3 separate regions of the Homo sapiens genome follow, and all the other regions are linked to region 3. Evidence: promoter capture Hi-C in human tissues and cell types (Jung and others, 2019). All regions are on one chromosome and are shown on one strand. The core of a region is centred on a gene start or on the middle of the fragment in contact, and the rest is flanking DNA. Distances in the headings are between cores, read along the strand shown. Region 1 overlaps LOC107987108 (a long non-coding RNA gene). Region 2 overlaps LOC107987108 (a long non-coding RNA gene). Region 3 holds the start of ZNF462 (zinc finger protein 462).

Evidence for each region. The method cuts DNA at HindIII sites, captures the fragments that hold promoters and counts their contacts. A contact is called where the count stands out against the background at its distance.
Region 1: a contact is called between a fragment that was not itself captured here and the fragment with the promoter of ZNF462 in region 3, in 2 of the 25 tissues and cell types used here (dorsolateral prefrontal cortex and lymphoblastoid cells).
Region 2: a fragment that was not itself captured here is called in contact with the fragment with the promoter of ZNF462 in region 3 in 1 of the 25 tissues and cell types used here (dorsolateral prefrontal cortex).

The regions. Positions count from the first base shown.
Region 1 is chr9:105,951,393-105,954,092 of GRCh38, reverse strand. The region is part of intron 2 of LOC107987108 (a long non-coding RNA gene); the gene reads right to left. Among named protein-coding and RNA genes, the nearest start is that of TMEM38B, 260 kb to the right of the region's middle. The HindIII fragment of the contact is 3,247 bases long and covers 1-2,700 here.
Region 2 is chr9:106,319,264-106,321,963 of GRCh38, reverse strand. The region is part of intron 3 of LOC107987108 (a long non-coding RNA gene); the gene reads right to left. LOC124902240 (a long non-coding RNA gene) reads right to left here. Exons shown (of 2, transcript XR_007061716.1): 2 at 1-2,700. Among named protein-coding and RNA genes, the nearest start is that of MIR8081, 280 kb to the left of the region's middle. The HindIII fragment of the contact is 4,527 bases long and covers 1-2,700 here.
Region 3 is chr9:106,861,781-106,864,480 of GRCh38, reverse strand. ZNF462 (zinc finger protein 462) reads right to left here and starts at 1,315. Exons shown (of 13, transcript NM_021224.6): 1 at 1,126-1,315. The HindIII fragment of the contact is 13,314 bases long and covers 1-2,700 here.

The sequences.
Region 1 (2,700 bases), core at 15-2,514, 910 kb after region 3:
AAATTCAGTGGATGGTCCTAATAGCAAAATGGAGATTAAAGGAAACAGTCAGTGAATTTGAAGATAGGTCAATAAACATCATCTAATTTGAATAAGAGAGGTAGGGGAAATTAAAAAAAAAATAAGCAGAACCTCAGGGACCCATGAAATAATTTCAATACATCTTACCAAGAAAGACAATGGGGCAGGTAAATATTTTAAAGATAAATACCAGAAAACGTCTCCAATTTTTTTAAGATGGAAATGTACAGATCTAGGAAGCTCAAAAAGCCTCAAAGGGAATTAATGCAAAGAAATCCATATCTAAGTACATTATAGCCAAACTGATGTTCAGGGAAGAGAAAGACAAAAATTTGAAAGCAGCCAGAAAAGAACATCACGTTCCATATAGGAGAACAGTGATAGAAATTATCACAAACTTTTCTCACAAACCTTTCCCAGAAACTATAGAGGCTAGAAGACAGTGGAACATCTTTAACATGTTACAAGAAAATAACTGTCATCCTAGAATTCTAAATTCAGTGAAGCTTGCTTCAAAAAGGAAAGTGAGATAAAGACATTTTTAGGTAATGAAAAACTAAGGAAATTGGTCTCCACCAGAACTGTACAAAAAGGTCTTCAAGTTGAAGGAAATGATATCAAGGGAAAACTTAGATTTTCAGGAATGAATGAAGAGTAGGAAATATAAATGGTAAATATATGGGTAAATGAAAACACTTTCTTCTTTTAATTTCTTTAGAATTCAAAGGATATTTCACAGCAAAAAGTATGACATTTTCTTGTAGGATTTACATGTACTTAGATGTAATATATGTGACAACTATAACTTAAAGAGTGGTAAGATAGAAAGTAAATAGACCTATCTATGTATTACAATAATTCTACTTTTTATCATATTAGGACTGCATAAACTGTGAAAAGAATGTATAGAACAAACATGTTTTTGAAATGTACAGAAATATAATTTGAAATGAATAAGTGTCCTAAAATGGAAATTAAGATATTGAAATAACCCAAAAGAAGGTAAGATGAGGGTGGGACAAATGAGAGGGATTCAAAATATATAAAAAATAAAATGGCTACCTAAATTCAACCATATCAGTAATTATATTAAATGTTAATTGAACTGAACACTGCAATTAAAGGGCACAGGTTATCAGAATGGATTTTTTAAAATGAAGACCCAACCAAATTCTATCTACAAGAGACATATCTTAAATATAAATTTAAAAGTTGAAAGTAAATGGACAGAAAAAGACACACCATATGAAGAGTCACCATAATAAGGCTACAGTGGTTGTGATAATAGCAGATAAAATAGATCTCAAGAGTATTAGAAAAAAAATGAAGAATATTTTATAATAATAAAAGGATTAATTCATCAGAAAGGCATAGCAATTATAAATGTGTGTGTCCCTAATAACAGAATTTTAAAATAAGCAAATCAAAAATTGATAAGATTAAAGCGAGAAATAGATGATTCTACAATCAGAGCAGGAGAATTTAATACCCCTCTTTCAGCAAATTACTTAAAAACTAGAAAAAAAAACAAGTAGATACATAGAATAACTGAACATGTCATTCGTTTTTGCCTAATTTGTATTTATAGAACTTTACACCCAATAACTACACAATACATATTATTTTCAAATATACTTGATACATTCACCAATATAGAACATATGTTATGTCATAATGCAAGTTTCGATAAATTTCAAAGGATTGAAGTTATACAAAGTATGGTCTTTGACCACAAAAGACTAAATTATAAATCAATAACAATAATATAGCTAGAATATTACAAATGTTTGGAAATTGGACAACAGATATCTCAATAATCCATGGGTCAAATAAAAATCAAAGAATTAGAAAATATTTGAAACCAAATGATAATAAAAATACAACATAGAAATAAATTTGTGGGATGCAGTAAAGGCAGTAGAGGGAAATTTATGACTTTAAATGTTCATGTCAGGAAAAAGAAAAAAGAATAACTTGTAATTAATGACCTTGAGAAGCTAGTGAAAAAAAAGAACAAAGTAAATCCAAAGCAGACAGAAGAAAGTAAATAAAAAGCAAAAATCAATGAAATAGGAAATAAACAATAAATAAAATAAAGCCAAAAGATGATTCTTTAATTTAAAAAAATTCCTACATCTCTAGCTGAACTGAGTTGAAAGTGGTGGAAAGGGGAAGACGCAAATTACCAATATCAGGAATAAGAAGGAATATCAGGAATAAAAAACTATAAATAGTACACATATTAAAAAGATAAGAAAAATTGACAAGTTAAATGTAATAAACATACATTTTGAAAACTAGTAAAGCACAATCAAGAAGAAATAGATAACCTGATATCTACTAAAGAGATGAAATTACTTGTTTCAAAAAAAAACCTTTCTATAAAAATTTTATTTAAAAGCCTTCAGGGCAAGATATCCCTGCTGGTGAATTCTACCAAATATATGAGGAATAGAAAAATAACAATTCTACACAAACTCCTCCAGAAAACAGGAAAAAAGAGTAGCATCATTATCCTGATACTAAAATTACATAAGATATTACAATTTTAAAAACTATAGATTCATATCCTTCATAAACACAGGTACAAAAACTTTTAGCAAGTTAAACCTAGCAATGTATCAAAGGAATAGTTAATATATCATGACTAAGTGGTATTTATTCCAGTAATGCAAGGTT
Region 2 (2,700 bases), core at 120-2,619, 540 kb after region 3:
CTGACAGATGGGCCATAGAAATTGGCTGTGTGGCTGTGATTCCAAAAGATTATATACAATGAAAACTCTGGACAATAAGTGCTTTCTCTGATTGTCGTCTACGAACTGGTTACTTTCTAGATGAGAAGAACTTGACTGGTTTCAGCTTATGTTACAGGCAGAAGAGGGGTTCTGAGATGTTTGCAGTTCTTTTGTCCTGGCTTTAAGTTAAAAAAAAATGTGCTTCCAGTCTGCTCCCTGGATCTTGTATGAAATATTCAGCCCACTAAGTGCTATTTGTAAAGCATTTATCAAAAGGCTAGGAGTGATGGATTCCCTCCTCTCCTCTCGAGCTTACAGCCTTCTTTTACCCTGATTTCTCTGTAGGAGAGAATGATTTATGTTCTGTTGTACCTTCAGCTCTTTCAGACCAGGATTGCAAATTCTTGGGATGAGTTCACATGCATAATCCCCCAACATGTGCATGTGCAGACACACACATACACACACACACAAAATCAATTCAGGAATTCTAAATATTTAGACAGATACCCATTATGCAAAATATTTTAGAACCATCTATATAGAGACTTTAAAAAATATGAACAGAACAAATTCAAGAGTTTTAATTTGTATATTTAATCTAATTTGGACAATTGCATTAGAGCATTAAAATTTTACATTTTCTTTTTACTACTTTACCTTCATCAAAAGTCATCATCCTCTGCCCATACAGGCTGGTATATGCTCAAATGATGAAAGGAAGCTTGGGCAGTCCCACAATTAGATAAAGGCAAAATTGCCTATGGAAATGACCAAACCCTTAATTAGCTAATTGCAGGTGCAATTGGCCACTTGCACCATCAGTTGAAGGGCAAGTGGTTAATTGAGCCCACAAGTGACCTACTCAATCAGAACTAACAAATGGCTCATCAGATGAGGTCTCAGCCAAAATGTGTCTGCAAACAATAGCATGTGCAAAAAAATGCTCAAATCAGAGGCAGCAGTTGGGCTAAAAATAAAACCCCCAAAACAAGAGATAATTAGAAAAATAATCAAAATCAGAAAAATTCAATAATGAGCCATGATCATGGGAGGAGTGAGAAAGATGGGTGATGCAGCCATTTGAGGAATCAAAGGCCATAGATGCTGGAAAGAGCATCAGCTTTGGATCATCCTTAATCATTCTTATTCAGAAATTTTAGAAAAACGTGCCACTTTCTTCCATGGTGGGTTCTTGTTCATAGTGGGATTCCAAAGAGCTCATCACAAGATCCCATAAAGAATAGGGGATTGGGAAATGTAAATGAATGACTGAATGGATGACACTGCATTTGCTTATAGAAGACTAAGAGCACAAGTACAGCTACTTCATTAAATTGATGGTACTGAAGAGTTTGTTGGCTTTCCCCTCTACTGAACATTTTTGGTTTGACTGTGTTGCTACTATGTACAATTTAGGAAATGTTTCCTAATTTGTTGGTAGGAGAACATACCAATGACTATGAAGATATTGACAGAAGTAATAATAATGATTTGCACTCATCAGTATAGGCTGTACTAAATAAAGGTATAAACCCCGAAATAGTAGCCCAAAACAATAATGTATTTTTCTTGCAAAATCCATTCTAGGTATGCCTCTGGTTTATTTCTCCTCACCAATAAAGATTCTTTCTTTTTTTTTTTTATTATACTTTAAGTTGTAGGGTACATGTGCACATTGTGCAGGTTAGTTACATATGTATACATGTGCCATGCTGGTGCGCTGCACCCACTAACTCGTCATCTAGCATTAGGTATATCTCCCAATGCTATCCCTCCCCCCTCCTCCCACCCCACCACAGTCCCCAGAGTGTGATATTCCCCTTCCTGTGTCCATGTGATCTCATTGTTCAATTCCCACCTATGAGTGAGAATATGCGGTGTTTGGTTTTTTTGTTCTTGTGATAATTTACTGAGAATGATGATTTCCAATTTCATCCATGTCCCTACAAAGGACATGAACTCATCATTTTTTATGGCTGCATAGTATTCCATGGTGTATATGTGCCACATTTTCTTAATCCAGTCTATCATTGTTGGACATTTGGGTTGGTTCCAAGTCTTTGCTATTGTGAATAATGCCGCAATAAACATACGTGTGCATGTGTCTTTATAGCAGCAAGATTTATAGTCCTTTGGGTATATACCCAGTAATGGGATGGCTGGGTCAAATGGTATTTCTAGTTCTAGATCCCTGAGGAATCGCCACACTGACTTCCACAATGGTTGAACTAGTTTACAGTCAATAAAGATTCTTTCACTCTGTGATTCAGCTATCCTGACAAAGGACTTAGCCTTCACCCCTCAAGAGGGCAGAAAAGCAAAGACCTGTGCAATGAAATAGGGCTTTTCACTGACTCAGCTTGTACATGTCTTCTGCTCACACTTTATTGGCCAGAATTAGTCTTGTGCTCTTGTCTAACTGCAAGTGTTAGGGAGTATGGAGCTTCCACCTGCCCAGAAAAGAAGAGACCTGAAATAGGGTTGGGTAAACTCGTGGCATTTTCTCTGTCACAGAATCCAAAAACAAGGAAGAATAAATAATCTGTCTATTTGGAAATTTAAGCATACCTTTTGATAGAATGCTAGGTTAAAGAAGTAATCAAAATGTAATGTGAAAATAATTCAGAAATGATAAAAAGGAGAGCCTTTCATAATAAAACATGTGGACAGAAGCCA
Region 3 (2,700 bases), core at 66-2,565:
GGGAAAGAGGGGCTGCTCCAATGGGGGGCGGCTGCGGCTTCCCCTCGTGCCTGGAAGGAGGGCAGACCCCTGGGAACTGCACCAGGAGTGAGACGCCCCCCCAGGCCCCTGCCTTCCTTTCTCCCTTCCTCAGAGGAGAGCCAAGCGTGTGTAATGGCTTCTCCTCTCCAGAAACCGTTGTCCTCCTCCACCAGACGCTTCTGAACCTCCAGCCTGGAGACAGCTCCTCAGCCGCTCCTGAACCTGCGCCCCCCACCCGGCCGGTGCCCCCCGCTCCTCGCCTCTCTGTTCACCAGCAGCACCGGCACCAGCAGCTGCAGCAGCCACCCCCCGACACATCCCGACCCCGCATCCCAACTTCGGGGAGAGGGAGAGAGAGAGAGAGAGAGAGAGAGAGAGAGAGAGAGAGAGAGAGAGAGAGAGAGAGAGAGAGAGAGAGAGCCAAATACCTGAGGAAGAGGGGGGCTGCCAATCCGCACGGCTTTGCCATCGGGCGGGGGACAGGCAGACAGAAGGGGGAAAGGAAGGAGAGGGACAGAGAAAGAAAGAGGTCAACCCGCTCAGGTCGGGGCCGCTCGCACGGAGCTCTCCCTCCTCTGACCCTCGCTCGCTCCCTCTGGCTCTCGGCTCAGGTCTCCGGCCTCCCGCCCTCCGCCCCCCTCTGTCCCTACTCCTGTCCCCACACTCGGAGCATCCGTCCTAAGCCTCCAGCTCTCTTCTCACTCATCTTTCATTTTCTCTTCTCTTCATAGAACTACACGAAATTAATTAAGCCACCGCGCTCACTCCCCCCAGCAGGAGCAGCAGCCAGCAGGAAAAGCACAGCCACCTCCACTGCCACCACTACCACCTTCTCCTCCTCTTCCTCCTCCTCCTCTTCCTCCCTCGCTTCTCCTCCTCCTCTTCCTCCTCCCCCTCCTGCTCTCCCTCCTCCCCCTCCTCCTCTTCTCTCTCGCTTCTTCTCCTCTTCCAACAGCCAGTCCATGCAGGGGACTTCCTCTCCTCCCCGCTCCTCCAACCCTCCTTGGCCGAATGAATGAGCGCGTTTGTGCCTCCACCACCCCGCGCTCTCTTCCCCGGAGCACTCGGACCACCCCGAGGTGGTTGTTAATTGCAGTAACTTACAGAAGAAGCGTCCCGGCGCCGGGAGGTGCTTCGGGTTCTCCAGCCCCACCGCCTCCTTATCCTCTTTCTCTTTCTCCTCTTCCTGCTCGGGTTATTGTTGTGGAAGTTGTTTGGGAGTCTCATGTGCTTCTGCCGGGTCTCAGCAATGGAGGATCGCCATCTTCCCTGCCTTCCTCGGCTCCTCAGACTCGCTGCAGCTGCAGATGACCTGAGATATCCGTCTCTCTCCCTCTCTCTCTCTCTCCCTCCCTCCCTCTCCCTCTCACTCTCTCTCTCCCCTCTCTCTCCTCTTCTCTCTCCTCTCCTCCCTCTCCCTCGCGCGCTCTCTCTCTCTCCCTCCCTCTGTGTCTCTCTCTGAATAATGAGCAACCAGGGGGAGAGAGAAAGCAAGACAGAAAGAGAGAAGGAAGACAATCTTCTCCTGCCACACAAAACGCCGGAGCACCAGGGGGTGCGCGAAGCCTTTCTAATAACAACAACAACGTGCAGCAGAGAGGAAGGAAAAAAAGAAAGAAAGAAAGAAATGAGGAAAAAGGCTAGGGGAAAAAAGAGGAAGAATTATCCAAGAGCTCGAGAAGAGCAGAAGGAGAAGCTGGAGGAGATGCTGAGGCTGCTGCTGCTGTTCCCCCTCCCCCCTGCTGAACCCCAGAAGGAGGCAAGGTGGTTGCAAAGTTAAGGCTGGGACATTGTCTTTGTCACTCAGAGCCAGGCCAGTGAGATGCAAGAGGAGGAGGTGGCGGCGGCAGAGGAGGAGGAGGTGGTGGTGGAGGAGGGGGAGGAAGAGGAGGAGAAGGAGGCAAAGGAGAAGGAGGCAAAGGAGAAGGAGAAGGGGAAGAGGGAGATGAGATGATGAATAAAGACCTGCGGAGAAGGCGGTGCGAGGAGCGCGGCCGCCGGGCCGAGGCGTGCGCGCTCGCGTCCCGGTGGCGCCCGGCAGCCCTGGCCCGCAGAGGAAGCCCCCGGTGAGGACCCTGCCCGGCAGCTCATAGCGCTCCCAACGTCAGCCCTGCCCGAGGCGCCGAGCCCGAGCCCCAGAGGGTCCCTTACTTGCATCCATCTAGAGGCCAACCTTTGCAAAGAACATACGTGGGGAACTGGAGGTTGCAAGTATAAACCCAGATCAACCACGTGGGGCTTTTTAATCCCTTTCCAGCTTGCGGTGTGAGTATTTCCAGTGAAAAGCTCAAATTGTCCATTACTGGCACGTATTTTGAAGTCTTCTCTCCTGAAATAAAGGCTCATTGTGCGTTTTATTTCTTTCCTGATATGGAAGGTGGGGGGGTGGAGGAGGAAAAGAGCCCATCATTCCGAGCTTCGGAACCACCACTTTCTTTTCCTAACTTGTGAAATGTTTTGACTGCGCACCAAAAGAAAAAAAGAACGCCTGCTTAAATAACTTTACACCCTCCAGCCCCGCGTTGTTTGCACTTTCTGGCTGATCATCTAAAGGCTCGGAAAGTAACAATCAGCGCTCTTAATGATAAGGTGTCATGGTGTTGAAGACACGCGAGCCAAGATGAAGCTTTCACACCTTGAATTTTTATTTAGTGTAATCTCTCCCGTATCATTCTGAAC